6 separate regions of the Homo sapiens genome follow, and regions 2, 3, 4, 5 and 6 are each linked to region 1. The links are contacts of gene promoters, found by promoter capture Hi-C in blood cells and fetal thymus (Javierre and others, 2016). All regions are on one chromosome and are shown on one strand. Each heading gives the region's core, a stretch centred on a gene start or on the middle of the fragment in contact. The rest is flanking DNA. Distances are from core to core; before and after follow the strand shown. Region 1 holds the start of PDGFC (platelet derived growth factor C). Region 2 has its middle 150 kb from the start of LINC02272. Region 3 has its middle 97 kb from the start of LINC02272. Region 4 has its middle 74 kb from the start of LINC02272. Region 5 has its middle 54 kb from the start of LINC02272. Region 6 has its middle 30 kb from the start of LINC02272.

The links. Contacts are between HindIII fragments. The CHiCAGO score rates a contact against its expected background, and 5 or more counts as called.
Region 2: a contact is called between a fragment that was not itself captured here and the fragment with the promoter of PDGFC in region 1, in 3 of 17 cell types (M1 macrophages, M0 macrophages and M2 macrophages). The highest score is 6.2, in M1 macrophages.
Region 3: a contact is called between a fragment that was not itself captured here and the fragment with the promoter of PDGFC in region 1, in 2 of 17 cell types (M1 macrophages and megakaryocytes). The highest score is 5.3, in M1 macrophages.
Region 4: a contact is called between a fragment that was not itself captured here and the fragment with the promoter of PDGFC in region 1, in 1 of 17 cell types (megakaryocytes). The highest score is 6.4, in megakaryocytes.
Region 5: a contact is called between a fragment that was not itself captured here and the fragment with the promoter of PDGFC in region 1, in 3 of 17 cell types (M0 macrophages, M2 macrophages and megakaryocytes). The highest score is 7.5, in M0 macrophages.
Region 6: a fragment that was not itself captured here is called in contact with the fragment with the promoter of PDGFC in region 1 in 1 of 17 cell types (M2 macrophages); the score reaches 5.6 in M2 macrophages.

The regions. Positions count from the first base shown.
Region 1 is chr4:156,969,655-156,974,433 of GRCh38, reverse strand. PDGFC (platelet derived growth factor C) reads left to right here and starts at 2,635. Exons shown (of 6, transcript NM_016205.3): 1 at 2,635-3,648. The coding sequence starts at 3,531. RefSeq lists an enhancer at 2,348-2,848. The HindIII fragment of the contact is 8,294 bases long and covers 1-4,779 here.
Region 2 is chr4:156,489,337-156,494,115 of GRCh38, reverse strand. No RefSeq gene overlaps it. Among named protein-coding and RNA genes, the nearest start is that of LINC02272, 150 kb to the left of the region's middle. The HindIII fragment of the contact is 7,171 bases long and covers 1-4,779 here.
Region 3 is chr4:156,543,002-156,547,780 of GRCh38, reverse strand. No RefSeq gene overlaps it. Among named protein-coding and RNA genes, the nearest start is that of LINC02272, 97 kb to the left of the region's middle. The HindIII fragment of the contact is 1,571 bases long and covers 1,511-3,081 here.
Region 4 is chr4:156,566,158-156,570,936 of GRCh38, reverse strand. No RefSeq gene overlaps it. Among named protein-coding and RNA genes, the nearest start is that of LINC02272, 74 kb to the left of the region's middle. The HindIII fragment of the contact is 178 bases long and covers 2,594-2,771 here.
Region 5 is chr4:156,586,042-156,590,820 of GRCh38, reverse strand. No RefSeq gene overlaps it. Among named protein-coding and RNA genes, the nearest start is that of LINC02272, 54 kb to the left of the region's middle. The HindIII fragment of the contact is 1,013 bases long and covers 2,432-3,444 here.
Region 6 is chr4:156,610,196-156,614,974 of GRCh38, reverse strand. No RefSeq gene overlaps it. Among named protein-coding and RNA genes, the nearest start is that of LINC02272, 30 kb to the left of the region's middle. The HindIII fragment of the contact is 863 bases long and covers 2,237-3,099 here.

The DNA of each region.
Region 1 (4,779 bases), core at 1,386-3,885:
TTGGCGGAACAGATGCCTTTCATCAAGGAAAATGCCTTTGGCCAAAACAAAGCCATATTCATTTAAAATATATTGTTTAGTAATTGCACAGACTCTGGATTATATAAAATTTACTTTCAATGCAAAGATTTCATTTTTCTAGAAAAGGTTAACAAGCAAAATAGAGCAGGAAGACAGGCAGAGGATAATGTGTTAAAAGAATCAACTACGTCAAGGGCAAGAGCAGTTCAAGAAATGACAATGCAAGTACATTGAAAGGAAATTGGCCAATGTGGATGTGATTTTGTCTAGGGGTCATTCAGGAACACCTGGCTGACTTTATTTATAAGGCGATTGTCAAATCAATCTGTAGAATATGGATGAGGTGAAACGCAGAGGTAGAGTATTATTCTAGATCATCTGTAACTTTTCAAATACAACTATCGCACTGAAATTCCAGGGAGAATGTAAGTGACTCCAATAAAGAAACCTGTCAGTCAGTCAAGAGTGTTTATTTATTATCCCCCTGTGCCAAGCAATATTCTAGCCAATATGAAATGATACAAAATAAAGAGTAGTCATCACCCTTCCAATCTCCTGAGAGCAAATGGATTACATTTGCAGACACACACACACACACACACACACACACACACACACACACCCCACCTCTATGTGGGTGGTCAGGAAACTCAACTATATGGACATATAACAATTTCATTTAGAAAAGTGCTGATTAGAAAACTAAACTTACAAAATTAGAAAAACTGGAGAATAATGAATTTTATGAAAAATAGATTACAATGGATTCATAAGGCATGCCCTTTATTTAAGTCCCATTATGTTATTAAAATTGGGAATAACCCTTCACCCTCACAAATTTACAAAATATTTTTGGAACACATTATGCAAATATGGAGTCACACTGGTGTTGTGGAGCTGCTAACTCGAATAAAATACCATACTTGATAAAAAACCTTCTGTCCACTAAACTGTAAATGCCTTAAAGTCAAAGATCAGGCCTTATTTGCCTTTAGTGTATATTTAGTACTCTGTAGATAGAAGTGGTAAAGGGATAAGAATGAATGAATGAGACAGGCGGGTGAAATTTTCAAGAATGAGACAGATGGGTGAAGTTTTCAAAGGTTTCTAAAAGGGAAAAACAAGAAGACTAGGATATTCCAAGCAGAAAGGTCTGGTTGGTTGGCCCCAGTTGGTGTTCGCATATAAGAAGAGGGCTTGGCATTTTCCTCACCACTGAAGAAGGATCAGCCCCTGGTTTGGTCCAGTAAGAATATGTTCTTGCCCAAATGCCACTCCTTAGTTTCAGGGACATTGCTATTTTGGTTTTCTGTTCCAGCCCAAGTGTTCTTGATGGTCGAATTGTTTGCATTGACTTTTTTTCCACAAGAAGTTGGGTGATATTGCTGATTTGCCTGCCATGGCACTTCCTTGTTTTCATTTTGATTATTACTCAAAAATAGCTTCATTTTAAAATTCAACTTTTCTGACTCTCTGCTTGTGCCTTTAACACATTGACAATGATTTTCTGCTTCTCCACAAAGAAAGCACGTTGGATCCTGTCACAGACATATTTAGCAGACATGGAACCACCATAAGCCCTGCTTGGCATGTGTGTTTCATTTCAGACTACCTCATGAGAACTTTAGGTCTTAAAGCATCGGCCTCTCTCTCCAAGTCAGCCTGAACACAAGCCACAAGAGATTTCAGTTCTTTCTCGACCTTTTTGGTGTAAATGTAAACAATTCTATCACCAGGGGTTCAGGGCAGCCTAGTTTTGTTAGAGGCTGTATTGTAGGAAAGTCCAAGGTTGCAGGATCATTCTGAGTCCCTTAGACACCATTCTCAGAAGAGCTTGCTATTAGCTTAATGCTGCCCAACTACTACGTATGCTTCACGAGGGCAGGGACTTTTGTCTGTTTTCACTGCTACGGCTCCAACCTCTAAACAGTGCCCGACATAGTAGGCATTCAGTAAATATAGTACTTGTTAAATGGATGTTATTTTGGCTGCCTTTACTTTTGCTTTATTTGTCCTGCTTTACGGAGCTGGAAATTGGAGGAAAGCCTTTGAATTCATTTCCCTTCTTCCTTCTGTTCTGAAACTCTGGCCAAGGGTCCTAGCAAAGACCTTAGGGAGTGGGGAGCCCTCCTGGAAACTAATGACAAGTCAGGCGACAGGGGGCGGGAGAAGGAGAGCTGCAGGAAGTTCTTTCCCACTTACTTCTGCAGCACCCTTCACCACCCATCGTGCTCTGTATTTGGGGTTAGAGGTGTTCCGTGGAAGGGAAAGCAGGGGCCGCCTTGGCCGCGTTCCTCTCCTGGGCCACCGGGGTCTTGCCCACAGCGAGTCCCGCAGCACCCCCTGTCTGCGCAGCACCTGTTGACAGCCAGTGGGCGGCCAAGCCCGCTCGCGCGGACGCGTCCCAGGGCTGCCCCTCCCAGAGGCGCTGACCCCCGCCCGCCCCATCGGCCGCCTGCGGGAGAGCCGCTGAGCCGCCCCCGCTCGCCAGGCGCGCGCTCCGCCCGGGCTCGGCCCACGGCCCCCACCTCCTGTCTGCCGCCCGGCGGGGGGAAGGTAGAGAAGGGGAGGGGACAAGCCGGATCCTCCCGGCCGCCCCGGCCTTCCCTCTTCACCCCGTGCGGAGACGCCGCGCGTAGCCCCGAGGTTAGCGCGGAGCCCGAGGCGTGGGGGGAGGGGACGGGGAACAACCGGAGCCCCGCGGTGACCCCGAGCGGCCGAATTGCCCCAGGCTTTGAGGAGCGGGGGACGAGCCCGAACAAGGTGAACTTTGGTCGCGGAAAACTCAAGCCAGGTGCCGGAATCCGTGCTGCGGCGCTCCGAACCCGGGGCCAACTGCGCTCCGGGCTGAGGAGCGGGAGCCCCGCGGCCTCTCTCCGCCTGCGCCCGGGCCGCCGTCGGCCCGGAGCCCCCCGGCCCCGCTCCGGCGCCCCGGCCCGTGGGACCCGCCGCGGCGCCCTCGCCTTGTTTCTTCCCCCTCCCCCTTCGGGGGTGGGGGGTGGGGCGGGGGAGAGGGGCGCCCGGAGAGCCGCATCTATTGGCAGCTTTGTTATTGATCAGAAACTGCTCGCCGCCGACTTGGCTTCCAGTCTGGCTGCGGGCAACCCTTGAGTTTTCGCCTCTGTCCTGTCCCCCGAACTGACAGGTGCTCCCAGCAACTTGCTGGGGACTTCTCGCCGCTCCCCCGCGTCCCCACCCCCTCATTCCTCCCTCGCCTTCACCCCCACCCCCACCACTTCGCCACAGCTCAGGATTTGTTTAAACCTTGGGAAACTGGTTCAGGTCCAGGTTTTGCTTTGATCCTTTTCAAAAACTGGAGACACAGAAGAGGGCTCTAGGAAAAAGTTTTGGATGGGATTATGTGGAAACTACCCTGCGATTCTCTGCTGCCAGAGCAGGCTCGGCGCTTCCACCCCAGTGCAGCCTTCCCCTGGCGGTGGTGAAAGAGACTCGGGAGTCGCTGCTTCCAAAGTGCCCGCCGTGAGTGAGCTCTCACCCCAGTCAGCCAAATGAGCCTCTTCGGGCTTCTCCTGCTGACATCTGCCCTGGCCGGCCAGAGACAGGGGACTCAGGCGGAATCCAACCTGAGTAGTAAATTCCAGTTTTCCAGCAACAAGGAACAGAACGGTGAGTCTTTCCCCCATTCTCCCCCTGCTTGTTTCTCGCTGTGTGTGTTAACGTTGGCATTGTGCGTTGGTATGTGATATATACCAGACTGTGAAGGTATCTTTGGTCTCTCATTACATGCAAATGTGCGCTGCGTTCATTGGCATGGACTGTTAAAGGTTAAGTGTAGTTTGCAACTTCGGGAGCTGCCACAAAGCTCCAAGAGGGCAACGTGAGTGCCACTGCTGAGTGAGGACATTCTGGGAGCGATTGTGAACGTCATTTCAAATGCACATTGCAGGTTCGCTCATTGCTAAAGTTAGAAGTTCAAGAACTGCCTCTAAAAACGAATCCAAAATGAATGAGCCTTGGCATGTTTGACTTTACTCAGATTTGGGGAGGGCGAGGGGGGTCGGTCAGGAAATATATCAGCCGCATTAATTGAAGCACTCTAGGTCGAAGTCATCAATTAATCAATGAGTAGATAGGAAATATAGAGGTCAAGAGGCTGTGTGGTCGTTTTTAGAGGAATTAAAAAGTGTATTTCTCTTGCTCCCTAGTTTTTGTTTTTTAAACTTGCCTTTGTACTCTGAAGTCCTTACCTTTCTGGTGGTGTGTTTTTGTATGTGTTGGTGAATGACTGCTATTTTGTGTGTGCTGGAAACGACTTAATCCTGCATAGGAAATGAGAATTACTTTCAGCTTTCAAGTGTACCTGAAATGTTTAGAAAACTCTCAGATGCAAGTTCCCTTGGGCTGGGATTGCACAGAGCTGGAGAAAGGCTCCTTTCATAAAGCCAGGGCAGCTTCAGGGTGTGTAATTTGCTTAGCCTCTGAACCCATATGATTTACATCATTCAATTTCTAAACTCTTTTTCTCTTCATCTACCATTATGAAGTCATTTTTGAGAATACTTTGTAAATAGAAATTTTATACTGCACATGAAACCACAATGTTCATGTTAGGCTGTCTAAAATTGGAATATTTAACGCCCTGTTTACAAATGGTGGCTCTTACTGTAATTTGAAAAGGAATATACATGTTTTTACTGCTTTGTATATCATCTATTCAGAATGCAAGGATTCTGTCACTTGATTAACCATGCAAAATGAACACAAGTGGCATACCTACAAAATTAAGATAGGATGTGC
Region 2 (4,779 bases), core at 1,588-4,087, 480 kb after region 1:
CAGATAATGCAGAGCTTCTGTTAACACACTGAGTCAAAATTCCCCTGAAATGAGTTGAGAAGGCATTTGGCTGAAGAAGGAGTGTCTTTCTCTTCAGTAGTTGTGCCATGGAATCCTTGTACAAATTCCCTTCCAACAATTCAGAAATCAAACATTCATCACAGTAATAATGTTAAATGTAGGACATAATGTATCCTCGTAGCCTTGAGAGATCAGATGTGTGTGACCACACCTTTTTATAATAGTGCATAATCTGAGATAGAATGGAAAGATAATTCTTTTTACAGGTCATTTAGATATTCACTCAGTGAAGACTGTCTATTTTCAACATGTGCCTGCTTATTACAGATAGTACTTGTGTTTATGTGTGAAGAAGATGAAGTTAAGTGCTACTTGGAATTAATGACTGTCAAGAGTCCCCTTGGAAACCAACATAATCTATTTAAAAATTTCAATTTGAATAAACATTTTTGTATATCTTTGCTATTAATATATGCAATTTCAATGGAATATTTTGGTGAACTTTGCTTTTGATTTCTATTAATTGTTCTGAGGGTCACTTTAGAGATTTGCTGCCTCAATTCTGCAGATTTTTCAGTGGAAATTTGGACATGATTTTTACTAACTGGGAGAACATCTTGATGACTTTAGGTAAATAATTGTTACTAAAGAGAGATATTTCCTAGAATGATTTACTTTAGTGTTGTTTAACATTTAAGACACTATTCTCAGATTCCTGTTATTATGCTTGCTACACAGATATCATTATTCTATATTACAGTGCCTCCATTGCCAATCGTCTGATTTTTCAAGTGTAAATTTAATCATATAATCCTTTTTTTTTCTTAGTCTGTAAGTGTGACTCTCTTTTTGAGTTCAAAATTCCAAACTTCTTAGGATATCACATTCAAATCTCCCTCATCTGTTGATTTCCGCCATTCTCCTAAGATGCAAACTTCATAGCCTTTCTGAGCCACTTGCCATCCTTCAAACATAAAATTATTTTATGTTTTCATATATTAAATATATCAAACATATATATATCAAATATATCAAAACATAAAAGCCCATCTATTTGTTACAAGCAAAAACATAAATCAAATGTAATGTGTCATTAACATCTTTCCAATACAATATACTGAGTTTGGTTTTTCTATGTTTTGTGGAAACTAAAAAAAAATATAACCACTAGAATTTGTTGAGTGCTTATTGTTTTCTGTACATACAACTCAATTGGTCTTTATAATAACTCTGTGATGTTGGTGATTTTTAAATTATTCTGATTTTACAGATGAGGAAATAGAAGTACAGAATCCTTAAGTGACTTTCCCAAGGGCACACAGGACATGGACGGGAGTAAAGGAGAGACTAAACCAGAGTCTGGTTTGGGAATAGATGCTTTCTCTAGTCCAAAAGAATATTACAATATACTCCTTAGAAATATTTTGCCTAGAGAACTATATTTCTAAAAAGAATGTATAATAAATAATAATAATACAATAAAACTTACCTTTCAAAAGTTATATATGTATTAAATAAAGAAAATTAAAATATGAAATTTGGTTAGTGAGATATCTTAATAACTAAGCTATACAATTTGATTTCAATTCCTATCACACAGTAACAGATTCTAATAATGGATTTTTAAAATGATTTATTTACTCTTTTGAATGAAGCTCCTTCATTTCCAAAAACAAAACAAAAAAAAAATTGAAATAAAAATAAAAGATCCAGCACATTAATAGTAGAGAGAAAAGTAAAGAATTTGGAATAGTGTAACTCAAGAAAAGGTAAACCACTGTGTATTAGGATTATCTAGAGGGACAGAAGTAAGAAACTTAATAGTTTACTAAGTATTAACTCACATGATCACAAGGTCCCACAATAGGCTGTGTGCAAGCTGAGGAGCAAGGAGAGCCAGTCTGGGTCCCAAAACTGAAGAACTTGCAGTCTGCTGTTCGAGAGCAGGAAGCATCCAGCATGAGAGAAAGATGTAGGCTGGGAGGCTAGGCCCATCTCGTCACTTCATGTTTTTATGCCCGCTTTATATTCACTGGTAGCTGATTAGATGGTAACCATCCAGATTAAGGGTGGGTCTGGCTTTCCCAGTCAACTGACTCAAATGTTAATCTTCTTTGGCAACACCCTCACAGACACACCCAGGATCAATACTTTGCATTCTTCAGTTCAATCAAGTTGACACTCAGTATTAACCATCATGAGTCCACCTTTCATCAACTTGAATCCATATACATTTCCTGAGATCATACATAATCTTCAAATAAAGACAATAATAAGGTTTATAATTACACCTAACATAATACAACTATCCTTCCTACAACCAGAAATGCACCAATCCCCAACCCAAATACTATTACATAAAGTTAACGATACTTAAATGCTGATGTGAAGTCAATAAATCTTATGTCACATAAGGAATGGAGGAAAAGGCATTTGCCAAGTCAGTGACTGCATACCAGGTACCAGGAGATGTGTTAATTTGCTCAAGCAATGAAACCACATCTGGTACAGCAGCTACAATTGGAGTCACCACTTGGTTAAACTTACGATAATCCACTGTCATTTTCCAAGATCCATCTGTCTTCTGCACAGGCCAAATGGGAGAGTTGAACACAGGTGTGGTGTGGAATCACCACCCCTGCGTCTTTCAAGTCCTTGATGGTGGTACTTATCTCCGCAATACCTACAGGGTTGTGATATTGTTTTTGACTTACATTTTTCTAGGTAGAGGCACCTCTAATGGCTTCCATTTGGCCTTTCCCACCATAATAATCCTCATCCTACCAGTCAGGATGCCAATGTGGGGGTTCTGCCAGCTGCTAAGTATATCTATGCCAATTATGCATTCTGGCACTGGAGAAATGACCACAGGATGAGTCTGGGGACCCAATGGACCCACTGTAAGTTGGACTTGAGCTAAAACTCCATTAATTATCTGACCTCCATAAGCCCCTACTTTAACTGGAGGACCATAATGACGTTTTAGGTCCCCTGGAATCCACATTAACTCAGAGCCAGTGTCAAGTAGTCCCCGAAGCATCTGATTATTTCCCTTTCCCCAATGCACAGTTACCTTGGTAAAAGGCCAGAGGTCTCCTTGGGGAAGGATGGGAGAAAGGTTAACAGCATAAATTGTCAGTAGTGTAGTAGGGTGCTTCCTCAAGGGGACCCAGCCTCCCATTCATTCAAGGGGTGCTGGGTCTATAAACTGGCTTAAATCTGGAAATTGACTGAGGGGCTGTGATTCTCTGCTTTTATAATTCAAATGAGTCTTTTGTCTATTTGATCTAGAAGTTTTCTGCTTATATAAATTAAGTAGGAATGCAGTAGGCTTCCTATCAATTTCACATCTAGGAGCACCGTGACTAATTAGCCAATGCCGGAGCTCCACACCAGTCAGACTATTCTGATTGCTGCTTTGCTTCTGCTGTCCAGTATGGTAGCTATGCTCACCTTGCCTGTGATGGTTGAGTGCCACCACTTGGCCCCTGCCACCTTGGGATCCAATTATTTCCATTGTATTTAAATTTTGTAGTTGAGTGACTGCAATTCCCACTGTTAGATCTGACATACAGAGAAGACCAATTACAGGGCTCTTCAAAGATGCAGGTGCTGCCCTCACAAATCTATTTCACAAGACATTGGAAAAAGGTATATCTTCTGTATCTTCCCAGATGGGGTGAATAGATCTAAAGTGACTAATCCACTCCACCATCCCAATCTCCCTAAGCATTTTGATCCCTTCCTCTACATTAAACCAAGGGAGATCAGGCATTTCTATCCCACTCAGTAGGTCATCTTTTAATCCATATTTCAGCTAACCAAGCACATAAACTATTAAAACCTTTTTTAACTCCCTGAGGTGCAACATTAAATGCAGTATCCCTACTTAGTGGGTAAAAATCAATAAATTCAGCCTGATCCAACTCTATGTTCCTTCCACCATCATCCCACACCCTTAATATCTATTCCCATGCCTTTTCTCCAGATTTCTGTTTATATAACTTAGAAAGCTCAAGCAATTCCTTTCCTCCTCTTAGGTCACACTCTTAACCTCACCTTTAGGGGCCCGCTGGGACTTTAGTCCAGTTATAGGTCTAGAAGCAAACAGGGTTGTTGTGGGTGGCTTCTGAGGAGAATCAACATTATCTTGCCAGGCACCTGCCTCAGGGGAGGCCATCACTGTTGCCTCAGGCAGCGCAGGATTTATCATCTCAGACAAAGGTGGAAAAGCTGATGGCAGCATGGATTGCGAGGGGATGTAGCCATTACTGGGGATGGGAAGCTGTTTCTTCTGGGAAAAAGGTTCATCGGAGTTTACAAACTCAGTGTCCCCAGCTTCATCAAGGTCCTTCCACACATCCCCATTCCCAGTTGCAGGGTCTCATTATTTTCCAATCAATGCCCTCACTTTAACAGTAGACAGCTGGCAAGGCTGTGCATGCACCTTTCATTGCAGGTCAGCCACTGGCATGATAAGAGCTTGTGTCTGTTTTTTCACAATATTGACTCTTTCTCTACAGGAGATAAGACTCTCACTCAGGGCAATCTTAGCAGATTTAAGGCTCAGTATCTGCTTCTGAAGCCGGGAGATAGAAGCACCGAGTTTATCATTTTCTTTCATCACTTTGTCCACTGAACGTAGGAGCAACCAACCAGCTTCTTTATGTTCCTTGGTTCTCCACATATGGTCAAAGGTATTATATATAGAGTCACTAAACTTCTTGCCTCTCATGAGCAGTGAATTAGGAATGTCAA
Region 3 (4,779 bases), core at 1,047-3,546, 430 kb after region 1:
ATAAATACAAGAAGGTTTTTAGAAGCGTGCAGAAGCAAAACCCAGCTTCAATTTGGGACTGAATAAGGTAGTAATTGAAACACTTGAGGAAGAAGTATCTGAGCTTATACTGAAGGATGACTCAGCCTGACTCAGATGAAATATGTGTGTTTTAAGGACATTGGAGTTTGTGGCAGACAGAGTTCCAGGCCAAGGAAATAGCATGCTTGAGGTTTCAGAGTTGAGAAAAACATGATATATTCAAGGAACCAAAAGAGCTAGTTGGGCTGGAACAGAGAAAGGCAGAGGGAAAGAAATAATAATGAAAAGAAATGATGCTGAAGAGGACGAGTGTCAGGTCATGAAGGACCTTGTCTGCTGTATAAAGGAATTTGTATTTTATCCTACAAACAAGGGGGATTGGCCTTGCAAGATTTTATGTACTGGAGTGCAATGATCAGACTTGTGTTTAAGAATCTTCTGGTGGCAGAATGAAAAAATTAACTTGAGGGGGTCACAACTGAGGCCGGAAGACATGTGAGAAGATAGTGGTAACTGATCTGGATGAAAATAGTGGCCTGAATTAAGGGAAGTACTGTGAGGTCCGGTAGTGGGAAGGAAATGAGACAGGTATTTAGAGTCAGAGAAAGAATCAGATTTGGTAATTAATTAGGTCTAATAGATAGAGAAAGGGAGGCCTTAAATTCTAGCATGAGCTAGACATAACACAATGCTTTAGAGTAGGAATATTCTTAGCATTCAGTCAATGCTTTTCTTATTCTGAAAAGTCTTAAAAGTCTGTCAATGAAGACAGATAGATTTGAAAGTTCTAGCTTGCCATGACATTTTTGCGCTAGCCCTGGTACAGTGGCCAAATGTTTATTGAGAGCCTGTTAGATATATAGATTAAGTCAGAATGACTGAGATCTCTTTCTCACAACAGTAACAGTCTTCTGAAAGACACTGACAACTAAGTTAGAGATGGAGCAGGATGAGTGTACAAAGGAGATATTCATGGAACTCTTGATAGGCATTTGCACGTAAAGAAGAGTGCCTTGTCCTAGCTATCTCAAGCAACTGCCACTTACTGTCAATCACATCTCCTGGAATTGGAATTGGACTTGGCTGCCCCATCTATCTCCATCTCTCCACAGTGAGCTCTGTTTAGTTTTTTTTATTATTATTATTTTTGAGACAGAGTCTCACTTTGTCACCCAGGCTGGAGTGCAGTGACAAAATCATGGTTCACTGCAGCCTTCACCTCCCCAGGCTCAGGTGATCCTCCCACCTCAGCCTCCTGAGTAGCTAAAACTACAGGCACACGACACCACAGCGAGCTAATTTTTGCAGTTTTCATAGAGATGGGGTTTTGCCATGTTGGCCCATCTGGTCTTGAAGTCCTAGACTCAAGTGATCCTCTAGCCTCGGCCTCCCAAATTACTGGGAGTACAGGCATAAGCCACTGCACCTGGACTGTTTTTGGTTCTTTCTGTACATCAAGTCCACTCTCTTCTCTATCTGCAAATAAGCTTCTTCTCTTATTTCTGCTTTTTCAAAACTTTGTCTTATCATGGTCCATCAAGGCCCTTCTGGGTCTTTTTTTATAACATAAAGTACTTCTTGAGTGAGCTTTGTCAATCACCTCACCTCTCTGTATTTCTTTTATTAAAAATTGTAGAGAAGAGTCTGATAGTCCCATTTAACATTTCACATTCATTGGAACATCAAGGATCCTTGTAAAACTGATGTTTTGGCTGCCTTTGAGCCTTGTGCATACCCCTGGTCTAATTGTATGGCTGGGTTGAAAAAATAAAAGCATATTATAGCCACATGGTCCAGAATTTGACCATGACTGACAAGAATCTGTGCACAGGAAGTGTAGATGAAGGCATATGTGTAGCAGACTTTCTCAGGGTCAGGTTATTCAATACACAGCATGTCAGATTGAAGCAGAGCAGTAAGACAAATGTCCCAGAGTAGATGAGAATTCAGCTGATGCTTGATCAAAAAGAAGGAAGTAGAGAGGTGAAAGGGAAGGATGAACCATTAGGGATAACTTCAACTGCAAAAGCATTAAGGATTGAGAAGCAAGGAACCTTCAGGAAACAGCAAAGTTGGAATGGCTGATTGTTCTTCATTTCAGTCAGCTAAGGACATTTAAACCATTGATTATCACAGTGTTTCTCCAACAGGAGTCTGTGTCTCCCCAGAGAGTGATTCAGTTGTTACAACAGAGCCACAGAGATTAGCAAGTTATAACCTCCTTTTCTATTTCCAAGTGAAGAGAAAATAGTAGAGAAAATATTTTGCTTTCCTATTGTATGTTTGTTGATTTCCTCTGGCCGACAGACATGTTTTCATTTTGATGGCTGCAATGGGAATTAAAGTAGCAAGCCAGTCTGACGTTGGGTGTCTCATGTAGACTACTCTATTTTATTGAAAGCAGCTATGCCAACCAGGTCATTCATATAAGAAACATGAACAAAACCATGAGAAACACATAACTGCACTGTGTCAAGTGGAAGGAGAAGATTTGTAAACAAGAAAGTGGGAGAATGTTTCAGCAGCATATTGCCTTGGGACCACTAGTTCTGACATCTTGGCTGACAGCAAGCCTACAAATGTAAGACAAACCACAGCAGCAAGTAGCTCTAAGAGAAGTTGCTCAAGCCCTAAAATGGTCTCCAATTAAAACAAAGGCACTCCAAGAAACATAAGTTTGAGAAACACAGGCACAGAAGTTACAGACCTTATAAACAGTTTCTGGAAAATACTCTCTTAGCCTAGCATAAGGGGATTAGGAAGGAAACACAGGGCCCAGACCTATGTGAATTTTCAGGAAGTGTATAACACCAGAGCAGTAGGTCTGTGACATTAAGAGTTTTCCCTGTGAGAACTGCTCACAGAGCAAGTCTCAGAATAAATACCGAATTAAATGACAATAATCATTGTTGACAGGGAAAGTGTGCCAGCCTTACATCTGGCATTCAGTAACACAACGTAAATTCTCTATCTGTGAAGAGGATTAATATGAAGATCCAGTTCATAGAGATGGTTTTAGATGATATTTTGGCTTTCAGAAAAGAGTTTGCCTCAAAAGCTTACGCAACCAACTTCTGTTAGAAAACCCTTTCCTAAAATGGAAAACTGAAGACATTTCAATTATAAACACAGTTTAACATATAATATTCTAATAACAGCTATTGAAATATGGGCTTTCATTGAACAAAGCTTAGTCTCATCAGTCACATATTATAATTTTGCATTAAGATACATGAGCTTAATTTTGGAAAGAAAAGAGGAGTTTAGTGAAGAAGCTTCTTGAATCCAACTCCCTCTTTGACATTCTCATTTGAATGCTTAATAGCCTTCACAAACTTAATATTTCTGAAGTTTAAAATTTCCTACAATTCGATTTCATCCATAATATTGCAAATTCATTTTTCCATTTTCTCAAGCCATAAACTTTTGGAGTCATCCTTGACTCCTCTCTTTCTGTCACAACTCATATATAATTCATCCACTCTTCTCAGCTCTCCATGATTTGCTTGTTTGGTTTTGGAAGTGTACACAAAAGCTAGCATAAACAACCCCATTCTAGGCCACCGTTATCTGTACCTAAACTGAAATCTTTTAACCTGTTTTTCTGCTTCTACTCATGCTCCCTATGATCTTTTTGGCACCCTAAAGGCAGAGGTATTCTACAATATTTTTCAAGACATTCTGTCTCATTCAAAGTAAAATCCCAGTCTGTACCATGACCTCTAGGGTCCTTCTGCTGGTACTTCTCTGGTTTTATTGTCCTGTACTCTCCCCTTGATTGCTGTACCCCATTTATCCCTACCCTTCAGTTGTTTTTTTTTTCTGTTCCTTGCACACGCTAAGCATGTGCCTCCCTTAAGTCTTTTCTGTTCTCACAGTTTGAAATACTCCTTTCCAGATATACACATGCCTTACTCCTTCACCTCCTTAGATGTCTGCACAAATGCTATCTCATTTAAGGCCTTCACTGAACACCCTTAATGAAACTGCAATACCTTGCTTTCCCTTGGTATTTTTACTTCTCTTCCTCTGTTTTCTTTTTTGTGTGGCAGTTATTATCAACCCCATGTTTTAGATATGTATTTTTCTTTGCTTGATTATTTTCCATATACTCGCTAGAACATAAGCATTAGCATAGCAGGAACATAATTTTGTTTATTGCTGTATCTCATTCTTTAGTCGCTACAATAGTACTTGGCACAGAGTGGATATTCATGTTTGTTGACTAAATGAACAAGCGAGTTATGGTTAAATAAATGAATATCTAAAAGGGAAATTCATACGTATGCTAAAATTTTACTAGAGTATTTTCTCCTCTAGTTCAGTGCAACAGAGACATCTAAAGGTATAAAGAATATTAAAAAGGCAAGTCTAACATGGGAATATATTAATACTTAGTGTAATATTTTCATCAGGTAATATCTACAAGTCTGGGAGTACAGTTCCAATAAGTCTAAGAAGTACATAGCCTAAAATGCAGCTCTACAAATAACTATGTACCTAATTGTTCAAGATAAATGCAAATTTGATTATGGAAGTTTGAAAACAATTTTTTTTGTTTGAATAATTTTATAACTGGTGTTTACCAAGTGGAAATGAAGTGCACGCAAAGTGCAGTGTGAAGCTACACATACAAAAGGCAAAACAGGTCCTTGCCTTCAAAAATTTTTCATTTGTTGAGGTGACAAAACGTAAAGCACCTAAAGCTATTGAGAAGCAACATACCAGTGACAGTTAATATCGAGCGTCAACTTGATT
Region 4 (4,779 bases), core at 1,433-3,932, 400 kb after region 1:
AATCAACTTTATAAGTCTTTGCTTGGCAATCAAGGAACATCATGACCTGCTCAACTTAACTCATTAGCTATACTATACATATAGATGCAATATATTTAGCTATTTAAAAATACTCCCTATTTTTAAAACTCTCACTTCTCTTCAGGTTGTTCATCATATTTCTCTTACCTGTTGATCTACTTGTTATCTTAAAGATTTAAAAAAATATTTACTCCTCATCTAACCCCCCTTGGTACTTTATAGAACACATATGATGCTTTCTATCCATTGCCTGGCATTATAGTTTCATCTTGTAAGTCATGTTTTCCTGAAGGAACTGTTTTGCCCAGAAATACATGATCCATTTCATAATGGCTTCTGTAGTGTATTGCACAACATAAATATTAAACGAATTATAGAATTAAAACTTTTTTGTGGTTTTCAAAACTTCTCCTTGACATATAGAGTAAAAGTTGCACCTAACCTTAAGTGTTTAAAACTGAGTTGAGAAGTAGAGTGAGAATTCACCAGGTAAGGGATATACCCACAGACACAAGCTCACACATTCACCCACATATACACACGGCAAGAAAAAGAAAAAGAAAAAGAAATTAATTGGGTACAAGGCAAAATGTGGTCTAAACTCAAGTCAGCTAACTGAAGAAATGAGTGCAATGGTGAAAACTGAAGGTGACATGGAACAGACAAGAAGGCAATGGAACAGACAATCCCTAGTTCAACCAGGGCTTCAAACTAAGTGAGAGGAAAGACAGAAGAAAAGGACACATAAGGTATCACCTTTTAAGAGATAGTAGTGAGTTTCAAGGATCTCATTTATTTTCAAGCTGAAAATACAGTATCAGATGTCAAAGTGAGTAAAGGATCCCCAGTTTGGGGTGTAGAGATACATACCCATCTAAAAGGGGAGAAATTGTGTTTTTTTTTAATTTAAAGATTTAAAAATTAATTTAAAAATCAGGACCTATTCGTTTTGGAATTGTGCTTTCAGAAACATTTAACTTTTCTCATTAAAGTGGTGTAGTTTTAGATAAGAGCATTAAGAAATGTTTTAAGGTCTGTCTTCTCACCTTTCTACCCCAAAATCCTTTTTAGAGATCAAAGAAAGAATAATGCATTTCCTGCCTTTGATGAAAAACATGCTATTGCTTTGTCATCACATAGACAAAGAACGTTAGATCAAAATGATTGGGAGCAAATCCCTCCGGACAGCTGCCATGTCAAAACTGATATACTTTGGCTTTGATGACAGAGACAGAGAGTTAGAGAGAGAGAGAGAAGAAGGGAGAGAGAAGTAAAAAATAATCATCATCACTAAAAGTTCTACATATTTCTAGCTATCATTTAGATACATAATGACTAATTATTATGAAGCAAAAATTTGCAAAATTAACTTTTATATATTATGCATATGGGATAAAAGTACTTCAAATCCTCAAAAGAAATCATATACTTGGTTTTGTAACTCCAAATGGAAAAAGGATATTATGATAGGTCATTCTATATAAAAATTTATATCATCTTTATGCTTCTTAGATATTCAATCAATAAATCAGTTATTTTTGATGGCATATTGTCCAATAGTGCAAAGTAAGGACACAATGTAATAGTAAAATTGTGATACAGCAGAGTAGCAAATGAAGTCCTGGTTCCAAACACATTAGTTTTGTTTGTTTGTTTGTTTGTTTGTTTTGTTTTGTTTTGGCTTCTTTAACAAAGCTGGGAGGAAAAAACAAGATAAAAAATAAAAGTTGTTGAGGTACTTAGGTTAGCCTGTAAGTAATCTTTAATATTTTATGTAATTATTTTCAAAGTAAAATTTTTTATAGGTCTAAGCTTCAGAGACAAGAAAGAAAGTGTTGGAATATGATGTTGCATGTAGAGGAATAAAATTTGTCTATTAAAAAGATTTTTTTAGGATTTAAAGGAAATCCACTTGATAATTTTCTACATGTAGGAAAATCACTTTTGAAATTGCTGTTTTTTCATCTTTTTCCACTTTTTCCTAAAAGGAGGTCAAATTAAAACAAATAACAGAGCATGCACTTATTTTGTATTTTGAGAAAATAAAATCATAATTTGAGAAGAAAAACCCTCCAGTGTGAAGATGTGAAGATTCAAGGTGCAAGGAATTAGCAGGGCAAGTACAATGAAGTGGAATAATTAGAGAAAGCTGGTAATTAAACGCTTCTGATGACTGAAGAGAAGAGAAGACAAAAGCCGGCTGGTAATGTATGCTTGGCCTCTCTGCAGCTACAGGATACAGCACAGAATAGAAGGGCTTAAAATCAGAGCTGAAAGTCAAAGGGTTACTGTTTCTAAGAAGCATTCATGTAAATAGGGCTTGGAACCTAGTTATAGGTGCAAAAGTATAATACTTTGTTAACATCTAGTTTAAGTTACATATTGTGTAAAAGCTTTTGAGACTTATTACAAAGTTTATGTAGGCAAATAAATTTCTTAAAATATATTCTCCAGATCATATTTGTATTAATATTTTAATGTACATATCACTAATATTTACAACATTGCTTTAGAGGATATTAAGCATAAGTAGAGTGCTACTCTCTCAATTTATTCATACTTATGTGAAGCTTAACTTGTCATCAGGGTGCCTTGACTCAGAGTATTCCATTCATTGAAGGTAGTTTGCTCAATTTGCAGGACTAGAGCTTAGAGGAAAAAGAGCCAGGCTTGCAGATCCAAACTTGTTAACTGTTGGCATGCATTCAGAGGAATTTGTGACATATTTGGAGAAGTAAACGAAAGAAGCTTGAAATACTTATCACATTAGCAGGAGAACTTATTGTCAGTTCCATTTATTTCTTCAAGAAATACTTACCGAGAGCATTTAATGTACCGGAAAGTGTTCAACTCTGTAGAAGCGGCACTGAATGAAAGTTGACTAAAACCTGCGCCCTCAGGGGTCTTGCTTTCCACGTGCTGAAGAGTAGAATTTAAACTTAATTTTGAACATCAGAGAAGAGGGCAATCCATCAGAACTAGAAGAGGTAGATAAGGTTTTAGAAGATAAAGGAGAAGGCAATAAGCAAGGAACTCCAGAAACAAGAACGATAACTGAGATGATTAAGAAATGGTGCAAGTTGGAAATGAGGGAGAAAGAGCCTCAGGTAGAAAAGGTAGCAGATGAGGAAGTGCCTGGGAAGTCGAGCCAAATGATGGCAACGCTGATGCAAAATAAACCAGAGAGCAATTTTGATATTAATTTCACACAATTAGAAAATACTAGAATGATTATTTTAAAAACGGCTTAGAATGAATGACATCGAATATTACAGTGAAACTAAATGTACATATATTTAAATAGAAAATAAACATATTCCAAACATTAAATAAAATGCACATTTGTAAGAAATTTAACATTAAGTTTATACTATTATTTTAATACAAAGTATCAAAGAGTCTCAATTTGTCTCAGTTAAAAATTAGAAGTAAAAAGTATACATCTGAATAATTTAAATAAACAGGCTGGTCTCAAAGTCCCAACCTCAGGTGATCCGCCCACCTCGGCCTCCCAAAGTGCTGAGATTACAGGCGTGGGCCACCGTGCCTGGCCCAAAAAAATCATATTTTCAAATAACGATTTTGGTAGGCCTTTAAATATATAAAGCAAAGCTACCTCTCCAATTTTGAAAATTTGAAGAATTTTTAGAGTTTATTTTACTTTGATTCCTGAGAAATCTTTTGAGTAAGCAATTTTTTTTGTATTACTGCTTTTTGTATTGTCAAAGCATATACTCCCTATGCATTTTTCATGCTTAAAATTAATGGTTAAAATATTGGATAGCTGAATAAATTGATCTTCAATGTATAAATTGAATATCTTAGGAGATAATTTACTCACATGTAAAACACATTGATTACAGTATTTGGTAAATTTCACATGTAAGAACTAGAGATGAAAGTTCAGGGCTTGTCTCTAAATTGTGAGGCTTGGACTTTCGTATGTGCTTCCTGTATTTTTTCAGCCTTTGCTTGTAAAACAAAGAACACCTGGAAAAGCTGTCAATTAACTAGCTGTATTAATTGATGCAGGAAAACTCACTGTTCAGTCCCTGAATCTACTCTGAGGATTTATATTATCTGAATAGTTTATATGCTTCTATTACACTAGATGTTGGCTCTGGTAGTGGTCTTCAAACTTTGTTTTTGTTTGGAAGTCGTCTAATACAATTTTGAAAATACATGTCTTCCTTTGCACACTTTAAAGTTGACCTCTAAAATTTATTACTAGATTTTAAAAATACAGAGCATATGATTTCAAGTGTATTATAAATATTGAGATTTTAATATAAAGCTGTAAAATCTTAATATTTATAATATACTTGAAATCAGACTCTATTTTAAGAATACAACATTTAACAGGCTTTTAAAAATAAATGCATAGAATGAATCTAAAAATCACAATAATTTGGTATTCACCAACATCCACATTAAAAATACATGAAATCTCTTCCTTAGCAGCTGGAAAATTTACTTGGCCCTTTGTCCACTCGAAGTCATAATTTGCATTCTACTTCCCTAGACTTTTGTATTAATATACTGTTTATTTTTATCATTGAAAGTTGTATTGACCATCTATAGAGTTCTCTGCAACAAAAATAACGTATATATTTTGAAATTTTAAAATAATTTACTTCTTATGATAAGACTCTATATAAACTTTTTCACGACTGAATTGCAATAATAGTTATTAGTAGTGCACAATATTTTGAATTCTGTAAAAATCAAAAGCAATATTATTGGAAAGAGTTCTCTAAT
Region 5 (4,779 bases), core at 1,689-4,188, 380 kb after region 1:
TATACCTAAAATTGAGAGTAAAAAGATGGAAATATATACCATAAGAATGTTTAAAAAGATAGATGCTATAGCTATGCTAATGCCAGACTCATTAGAGTTTAATGTAAGAAGTATTAATGGACATAAAGGGTGCCACTTCATAAAGTCAAAATGATCAATTCCAAAGGAAGTTATGACAATCTTAAACCAGTTTGCCTCAAGTAAAATTATTCAAAAGGAGAAATAAAACTATTGTTATTGCAGATGACATGATTATATGCATAGAAAATCCAAAGTCATCTACATATAACCTATTAGACTAAATAAATGAATCAAGCAAAGGTCAGTGGATGTACTGTAAACACATAAGAATCAATTTTATGTGTGTGTGTGTGTGTGTGTGTGTATGCCATGAACAAAGAGAAATTATTGAAAAATAGCATTATAAGACCATAAAAAATGCTGAACAGCTAAGGACATAACTACAAAAATTGTGCATGACTTCTATATAGAAAAGTATGAACAATTACTGAAAAAAAAAAACTAAGGAAGACACAAATAAATGGAGCTATATAACATGTTCATGGCCTGGAAAACACAATATTTAAATCTGTCAGTTCTTCTCAAATTGATCTATGGCTTCAAAACAATTCCAATGTGTATGTGTGTGTGCGTGTGTGTGTGTGTGAAAATCAACAGGCTGATTCTAAAATTTACATGTTAATGAAAGGAATTCATTATTTTTCAGACCTTGAAAATCTTGAATCTCAAAGCTTTACTCAAAGTTTTAGGGCTTATAATATTATATTTTTCAAATCTTTCCTCACCCCACAGCTTTATTGAGGTAATCCACATACAAAACGGTATATATTTAAGGTGTATAACATGACTTGATATACATATACAGTGTGAAATGATTACCAAAATCAAGCTAGTTAACACATCCATCATCTTTCATAGTAATGTAAGGTGATCTTTTTTTTGTATGTATTTGTTGAGAACCCTTAAGATTTACTTTCAGCAAATTTCAAGTATACAATATGGTATAATTAATGATCGTTACCATGCTATATATATTAGATCTCCAGAACTTATTCACCTTATAACTGAATGTTTGTCTCTTTGACCAATATCTCCCGTTTCCTTCTTTCAATTCTCTTCTCCCTGCTCCCAGCCCCTGGCAACTACCATTCAGTCTCTGCTTCCGAGTTCAACTTTTCAGATTCCACGTATAAGTGAGATTATATAGTATTTGTCTTTCTGTGTCTAGCTTATTTTTCTTTGCATAATTTCCTCCAGATTCATCCATGACATCTGAAATTCCAGAATTTTCTTCTTTTTATGGCTGAACAATGTTCCATTGTAATTGGTATCTTATCTTTATAGACAGAGAGATGTATAGATATCACATTTTCTTTATCAATTTGTCTTAGTCCATTTAGTGTTGCTGTAAAGGAATACATGAAGCTGAATAGTTTATAAAGAAAAGCAGTTTATTTGGTTCATGATTCTTCTTGCTGGAAGGTTCAAGATAGGAAATGTGGTGAAGGCCTTGGGCTGCTTCTACTCATGATGGAAGGCAAAATGGAGCCAGCGTGTGCAGAGATCACCTGGTGTGAGAGGAAGCAAGAGAGAGATGGGTAGATGCCAGGCTTTTAAAAAAATAACCAGCTGTCATGGGAACTAATAGAACAAGAACTCCTTCATCCTCAAAAGAAGTCGTTAATATATTCATGAGGAATCTGCCCCCATGATCCAAATACCTCCTATTAGGTCTCGCCCCCAACACAATGGCACTGGGGATCACATTTCACCATGAGATTTGGTGGAGAAAAACAAACAAGCCATATATAAACAATAACACTATTCATTTGTTATGGAAACTGGCTTCTTTCATATCCTGGCCATTGTGAATAATGCTATAATAAACATGGGAATGCAGCTCTCCCATTTCTTTTGGGTGTATACCTAGAAGTGATATTCCTGGATAATATGGTAGTTCCAGTTTTAAATTTTTGAGGCATCCAAATTCTGTGTTCCGTAATATTTGTACCAATTTAATTTCCCACTATCAGTGTCCTAAGGTTCGCTTTCCTCTATCCCATCACTAACACTTATCTTTTTTTATAATAGCCATCTTAACAGGCATGAATTAATATCTCATTGTGGTTTTAATTTCTATTTCTATTATGATCAGTGATAATGAATATATTTTCCTACAGCTGTTGTCCAATTTATTGTCTCTTGAAAAATGTCTCTTCAGATCCTTTGCCCATTTTTAAAATTGGGTGATTCAGGGTGTTTTTTTTTTTTTTTTTTTTTGGCGCTGAGTTGTAGGGATATTTTTATATATATTTCAGATATTAGCCTGTTATCAGATACAAGGTTTGCAAATATCTTCCGTATCATAGGTTAGGATTTTGTTGACTGTTTCCTGTGGTGTGCATAAGCTTTTTAGCTTGATTTAATCCTACTTGTCTATTTTTGCCTTTATTACTTATGCTTTGTTTCATAGCCAAAAAATCATTGCCAAGGTCAATGTCAAGGAGCTTTTTCCTGTATTTTCTTTTAAGAGTTTTATAGTTTCAGGTCTTGTATTCTGTACTTTCTGCATTAAATATTCTACTTATTAACTTTGAATTTTAAAGGTTCAAGATAAATATTTCAACCTCATTGAGATAATAACATGTAAGATTTAGAAAACTGTATTTAAATTGGTTGCCCTGAGCACATAAGTAATGTCTTAACTTGGCAGTTATATCTTAGCAACCAAATTTTAGTTTGACACATTATTCTTGAAAATGTACTGGAAAAGGAACTGAAGCTATCTTAGCCCTTAATGAGTTAAGGTATAAAAATGAAGACAAATATTAATAAATCTCACTGTTAATTAGTTTATGATAATTTTTATAAGTGCTATATAGGACCCATACATAATTCTAAGAGGAAGTATAACAAAAATATGTAAAGCAGTACCATGGCTGACACATAGTATCCTCTCAACAAATGTTTACTAGTTTTTCATTATCTGGGTCTTGAGTTAATTCTCCCAGACAATAGAGTTGTAAATATTCAGTCATTTTTCCTTGCTTCTATCTTATCTTAATAACCTGGCAAAATCTATTTGCTGTCATAACAGTCAATGTTATTAGAAGACCTAGACTATTGAGTTAGAAAGGCTTTCTTGGAGAACTGATTTTTTAGTGAAATTTGAAGAATTAAAAAAAAGATTTATAATTAGTTGCTCTTATTTAGGGAAGGAGGTTTTATTTAAAGGGGAAAAGCAAAGAATCTGTGACAGAAAGGGGCATATCTACTCAGAGTGAGAAGAGAAATAGGTGGCAACTTTTAGACTCTGCTAATGATTTTTAGAATAGAATAAGAAAAATGAATTAGAAAAGAAAACAGAATAAGAAAATGAGAATAAGACAAATGAGAAGCTATTGAAAGGTTTTAAGCCAAGCTTGTCCAACCTGTAGCCCATAGGCCAATGTGGCACAGGATGGCTTTGAATGTGGCCCAACACAAATTTGTAAATTCTCTTAAAACTTTATGAGATTTTTTTGTGGTTTTTAAAAAGCTCATTAGCTATTATCAGTGTTAGTATATTTCATGTGCGGCCCAAGACAATTCTTCTTCCAACGCAGCCCAGGGAAGCCAAAAGATGGGACACCCCTGTGTCCAAGAATTAAAGATAAGAATTAAAGAGAATTAAAATAATTAAAGAATTAAAAAGATAAGATTTTACACTTTAAAAAATCTTCTGGTTCAAGGCCAGAGAAAAATTTGGAGGGAGACAGAAGTAGAGCAAGGAACTAGTAACAAGGTAAGAGTTTGAGGTATTTTGTCACAAGGTAGTTAAAACATTTGGAGTGAGATTTCATAATCAGCCCTGTTATCTGTTAGTTGTGTGATTGTTTATCTTTCCTCACCCTGTTTTCCAATATATATCCTCCAATATACATCCTCGGGACAGCCATTATAACCCCCTGATGATGTTGGTATAAGTATTCAGAAAAATAATCTATATAAAGCACTTACTTCCACAGTGCCTGGCAAGTGTTGGAGATCATTAATGTCATGTCAGTGGAGATGGAGAAAGTGGGCTGCATTTAGACAAAATCAAGAGGATTTTGCAATTGATTGGCTTTACAATATGGAAGGAGAAGTCAAGGGTGGCTCCCAGGTTTTAGGTTTAGTAAGCTGGGAGAGAGAGGGGACAAAGAAGGCCTAAAATTGGAGGAAAGATGGTAAAGGCACTTTCGTTTATTTTGATCTTCAGATGCCTTCATGTCCTCCATGTGCGGATGTCTACTAGGCAGTATATGAACTCATCTATAAGGGCCGTGGTTGGAGTTAAAAACTCTAGATTGCCTGCTTATAGAGTATGGAGTGAGAAGAGAGGAGTGAATCCTCTGCCTTCTCCCGCCCATCATTACTTGCCACTTATACATGATTCATTGTGCTGTAAGCACAGCTTTATTACAAATAATCAGGATTATTAGATTAGTACAAAAGAATTTGATTTCATCTCTATTCTAAAGAGTTCTAATTAGATAAAATTGATGGTTTTCCTTGTCACTATATACACCTAAAATTTTCTCAAGAAGTAAAAACAAACAAAACGTATAATTAAGTAATGTCATAAAAGAAATTTTAAAAATTAATCAAGGATTACCTCCAAAAATGCCAGAAGAAAGTTTCTTCTCCTTTTGAATACAAATAATTCATTTTTTAAGCAAATATATGTGTATATATATATTTTTTTTCCACCAGAGTCTGTTGGGAATGTTTTCTTAT
Region 6 (4,779 bases), core at 1,419-3,918, 360 kb after region 1:
TGATCTTAAGCTAATTCTCTCTCCATGTTAAGATTTCAGATATTTAGTATAGGCATCATTTTTATACACACACACAAAATGACCTTAATATGAGGATCTATTGCTATTACTCATTCACAGTACTTTAATTGCCTGACAAAATGTTATTTCTAATAATAAACTATTTTGACCCAAATTAACCAATCTATTTATGTCTGTTTTGTTATTTGTGCTATTTTAATTGTTGATAAATATATAATATGCAAGTCATCAAATTAATGCACACTTTACTTTTTAAAATATAAAGATTGTAGTGAGTTGGACACATGTCTCTTCTAAAACACAGAAACACAGCTTAATTTTAGAATCCTTGTTAAGGAGGAAAACATGGGTAACCTTGTCTACATGCTGTCTTCATCAGTTCAGGCTGCTATAAGAGAATATACAATTGCCTGGGTGGCTTAAACAATAACAATTTATTTCTCACAGTTCTGGAGGCTGGAAAGTTCAAGATCAAGGTGCTGGCAGATTTGGTGTCTGCTGAGGACCCGCCTCCTGCTTCACACACAGCAATCTTACTGTGTCCTCACATGATGGAAAAACAAGAGAGCTCTTTTCACATCTTTTATAACGGCACTAATCTTGCTCATGAAGACTCCACACTCATGACCTGATCATCTCTCAAAGGCCCCACCTCCTAAGACCATCACTTTGGGTGTTTGAATTTTCATTAATGAATTTCCGTGAACACAAACATTCGGTCCATAGGAGATGTCTTTGTACATGACATGTGATTGTAAGGCCACTAGACAACTGATTATAATGTGAGAGAATGTCTACAGAAGAGAAATATATTTATTAATTTTCTGAACATAGATGGTATATCTACTTTCTCTGCTACCTATTTTACTTTGTTTACTATTTATGTCATAATGTCACTGGGAAAATGGTTTTTTATAATTTCTATGAACAAGTCATTTTGTTGGACAACATTAGCCTTCATAAGTTTGCAAATGGTTTCTTTTAGAGGTTAGGACAAGACTAGACAACATCTTAAAGCTTTTTGAGGCCATTTAATGATGGCTCAATAATTGGATTTGCCTAATTCAAAAAGTTATTCAAGAAAAACTTTTTCCTACATATATTTAACTCTATTATTCTCTCTAACTATTTCTATAATTATCTGAAATTTGATAGTTTTATTTGGTTTGTTTCTTTATTATACTTTAAGTTCTAGGGTACATGTGCACAACATACATGTTTGTTACATATGTATACATGTGCCATGTTGGTGTGCTGTACCCATTAACTCATCATTTACATTAGGTATATCTCCTAATGCTATCCCTCCCCCCTCCCCCCACCCCACGACAGGCCTCAATGTGTGATGATTTCATTCATACATGGAATTTTTCAAAGTGGATATCATAGAGGTAGAAAAAGAATTTTTCAAAGTGGATATCATAGAAGTGGGTATCATAGAATAGAAAAATGGTTACCAGAGGCTGTGTTGTGGGGGTAGTGGAAGAGTTTGGTTAATGGGTACAAAGTTGCAATTAGACAGAAGGAATGAGTTCTGTTGTTCTATTGCAAAATAGAGTGACTGTAGTTAACAATAATGTATTGTATACTTCAAAATTCCTGAAAGAGAGGATTTTGAATGCTCTTACCCCAAAGAAATAATAAATATTTGAGGTGATAGATATGCTAATTATCCTGATTTGATCATTATACAATGTTATCATTTATTGAAACATCACACTGTACCCCATAAATATCTACAATTATTGTGTGCCAATAAAAACAAAATAAAACTTTTAAAAAAGAAAAGTGGGAATGAGGGCAGGAACTAGAACTTATTTATGTTTGTAGGCTTAGTGATAAAATAGTGCTTGGAAGATAGTACTAATCAATATTTTTTCAATTCTTTCTCTTTAAGAGTAAAAAAGGAGATGAGGAGGAAGAGAAGAATCAGGAGAATAGTTAACATGTATCTACTATTTTTATGTGCCAACCACTGTGCTACATGATTTTCCTTTATAATGTGGATACTATTAATTTCCCCTTTTAACAAAGGAGATGATAAGATTTGGGGAGATTACCTACTTGTTAGCCAGTTCCCAGGCAGCAGGCTTGAGATTGACCCTATCAGGTTTCTTACTGCCAGGAATCCTCCTCTTAACCACCACTTATTAAATGCTTCTAGAGACAAGATAGGATGTAAAGCTAGTGCTTTACATATGTTTCATGCAAAGCTTTAGGTAAGACTAAGAGTGGAGAACACAGGGAACAAGTAGACCTTATTAATTGTAGCAAAGACCTCTCTAGAAGAGTAAAAGGTAAAGTTGAGGAGGTGACTTGAGATTACAAATAACGAAATAACTTTATTGGCAGTGGAGAAGCATTATGAAATATTCATTCAAAAAGTCATATCTTGTATCTGTAATGTTTAAGGTGTTATGATAAGCGTTATGAAAAGAGGGCAGATTAAAATATACAGAAACCTTAACAACTAAGAGCTTATAAGGAAGATAAAACTTAATCACAAATATTTATAATAGAAGATAAAATATCATGGTAAAAATAAAGTTTATGGAACTTCAGAAAAAAAGTTTTAAAGATGACAGTAAGACACTTTACGAAGGGTGACATTTTCTAGACATTAAAAAATAAAGTAGATCCCAGATTAGAAGGAAGCTCATTCCAGGAGAAAAAAATAGCCAAGCAAAAAGTGCTGAGATGAAAAAGTTGGAAAAAAATAAGAGTTTTGAGTAGAGTTTCCAGTCTACATGGGGAGCAGTGAAAGGTATACACTAAAAGATAAGTTCAGACCCTCATCTCCTTTGCATAAGCACTGTATACATCAGATGTTGGGATACACTAAATGTTCATTAGCTGAAAAATTACATTATTATAACTGTAGTTGAAAAGACTGATCTGAGAGTGCTGTGTGGTGTGAAATCGAAACCTAATGACTTGGTAAAAGGTGTTCATGTATAAATTACAATTGATGGAGCTTAACAACTAACTGGATTTGTCAAGAAAGAGGGGAATGAAAAAATCAAAAGTTACTCCAACTTTCCAGCAGATTAGCCTAATGAAAGAATGTCTTAGGAAGCTTAAACCCAAGAAAGGGTCCAAACGAAATGATCATAAAGAGGATAAGAATGGAGACAGCAAAATGAATTAATGGAAAAATGCTAATGAATGACTTGGTAAGGGTTGGGTGGCAGTAGGAGGAGAAGTAAGCACCTAAAATATATATCAAAATATGAATTATCAAGAATTAATGTTATATTGATTACAAGGCACAGAAGATTAAAATAAATCAAAGTCAGCTCTGAAGTTTTAAGCTTCAGGAATTTGTAGTCCACTGAGAGTAGCTACGAATTTAAGAGGAAAATTTCATCTTAAAATGGGAGTTCTCTTTAAAACAGGTTGAAATTTGGGCATGTTAAGTTGCATAGTGGAGCTATAATTAAGAATCTCAATCAAGCATTTCTGAAGTCACTTTTCCACTCACGAACTTGCTTTTTTAAGATTGTTCTATATAAGACACATAGAACCTTCTATTTCAGACTTTCAGTTTCTGGAACCCTTTCTAACATTTGATAGTTCTAAATATTGTGAACAACCACTGGCTTATGTTTTTAGGCTTGCTGCATAAAAACTATAGCAGCACTGCTAGAGACACCAAATAATAGCATTAGTCTAATTTTTCTATGCTTTAACTCTAAAGTATATAGGAACCAGAAAGTATATTATTATAACTATAACTATAATAATATAATGTATAAATTATATGCAGCTGAAATTGATCCTCAAGTCATTCCACAATGCTCCATTTGGCTATTGGTATGAAGACCCAGCAATAACAAATCTAAAAATATATATGTATATATAAGTGTCAATGGCAGAATGAAAGCTGCTGATGAGCAGAGAAAATGAAATTAACTAGAAATTAGGTAGGAGGAGTGTTAAAATGAAGGAGATATTTAAGTTCAAGGAGAGATGTACAGCATCGCAAATAGCAAAGAAGCACCAGTAGGCTCTTCTGGGAAAGTTATCAGTTCTAGGATCAATTTCAGGTCTTGCCTAGTAGGATATTCAATTATGAAGGGGAAAGATGATAAAAAAATTATTTTGAGTATTTTGTCAGATATACTTGGTACTGAAATTTGCTAATAGAGAATAGTAAAATGACCTTTCAGAGATATGTGGGGTTTTAAAAGATAACTACCAGAGTTAATTGGATATTCTTATCCAAGACAGTAAGAAATAAACTAGATGTTCTCTTGAGTCCATTAGCAATTATAGGATCTTATTGTGAATAAATATATGAAGAAACGATTTATAATTCATATTACTGTCTCTATGTTATCCAGAGAGTATTTGCCATCTTCCTTTTATTTTTCTGAGGTAATCCCATTAAAAAACTGGATGAGTTATACAGATGACCTGCCCTTTTAAAATGGTAGCAGCTTGTTCTCTAAAATATGCCATTCCTCATAACTCCTTTTGAAAGTACAAATTAATTTACCTCCTTCCTTTGGCTACTAAAATGCTCCTGATTACATTGTCATGACCAATGCATGCACTTTATTTTTCAAAGGATACCTTTGATTTATTTTTCTTTCCCACTTGAACTTACTAGGCATCTTGTTTATTTAATCATCTCTCACTAATGAAAGGGAGGTTCTTAGTTTATTTTAACCTGAGTTCAGTAGTTGTGAGCTGCTCTAAGCAGGTCTTAGTATCTCACTTTCTCTCTAAGTCAAATTTAACTCCAAATGTTTTAAA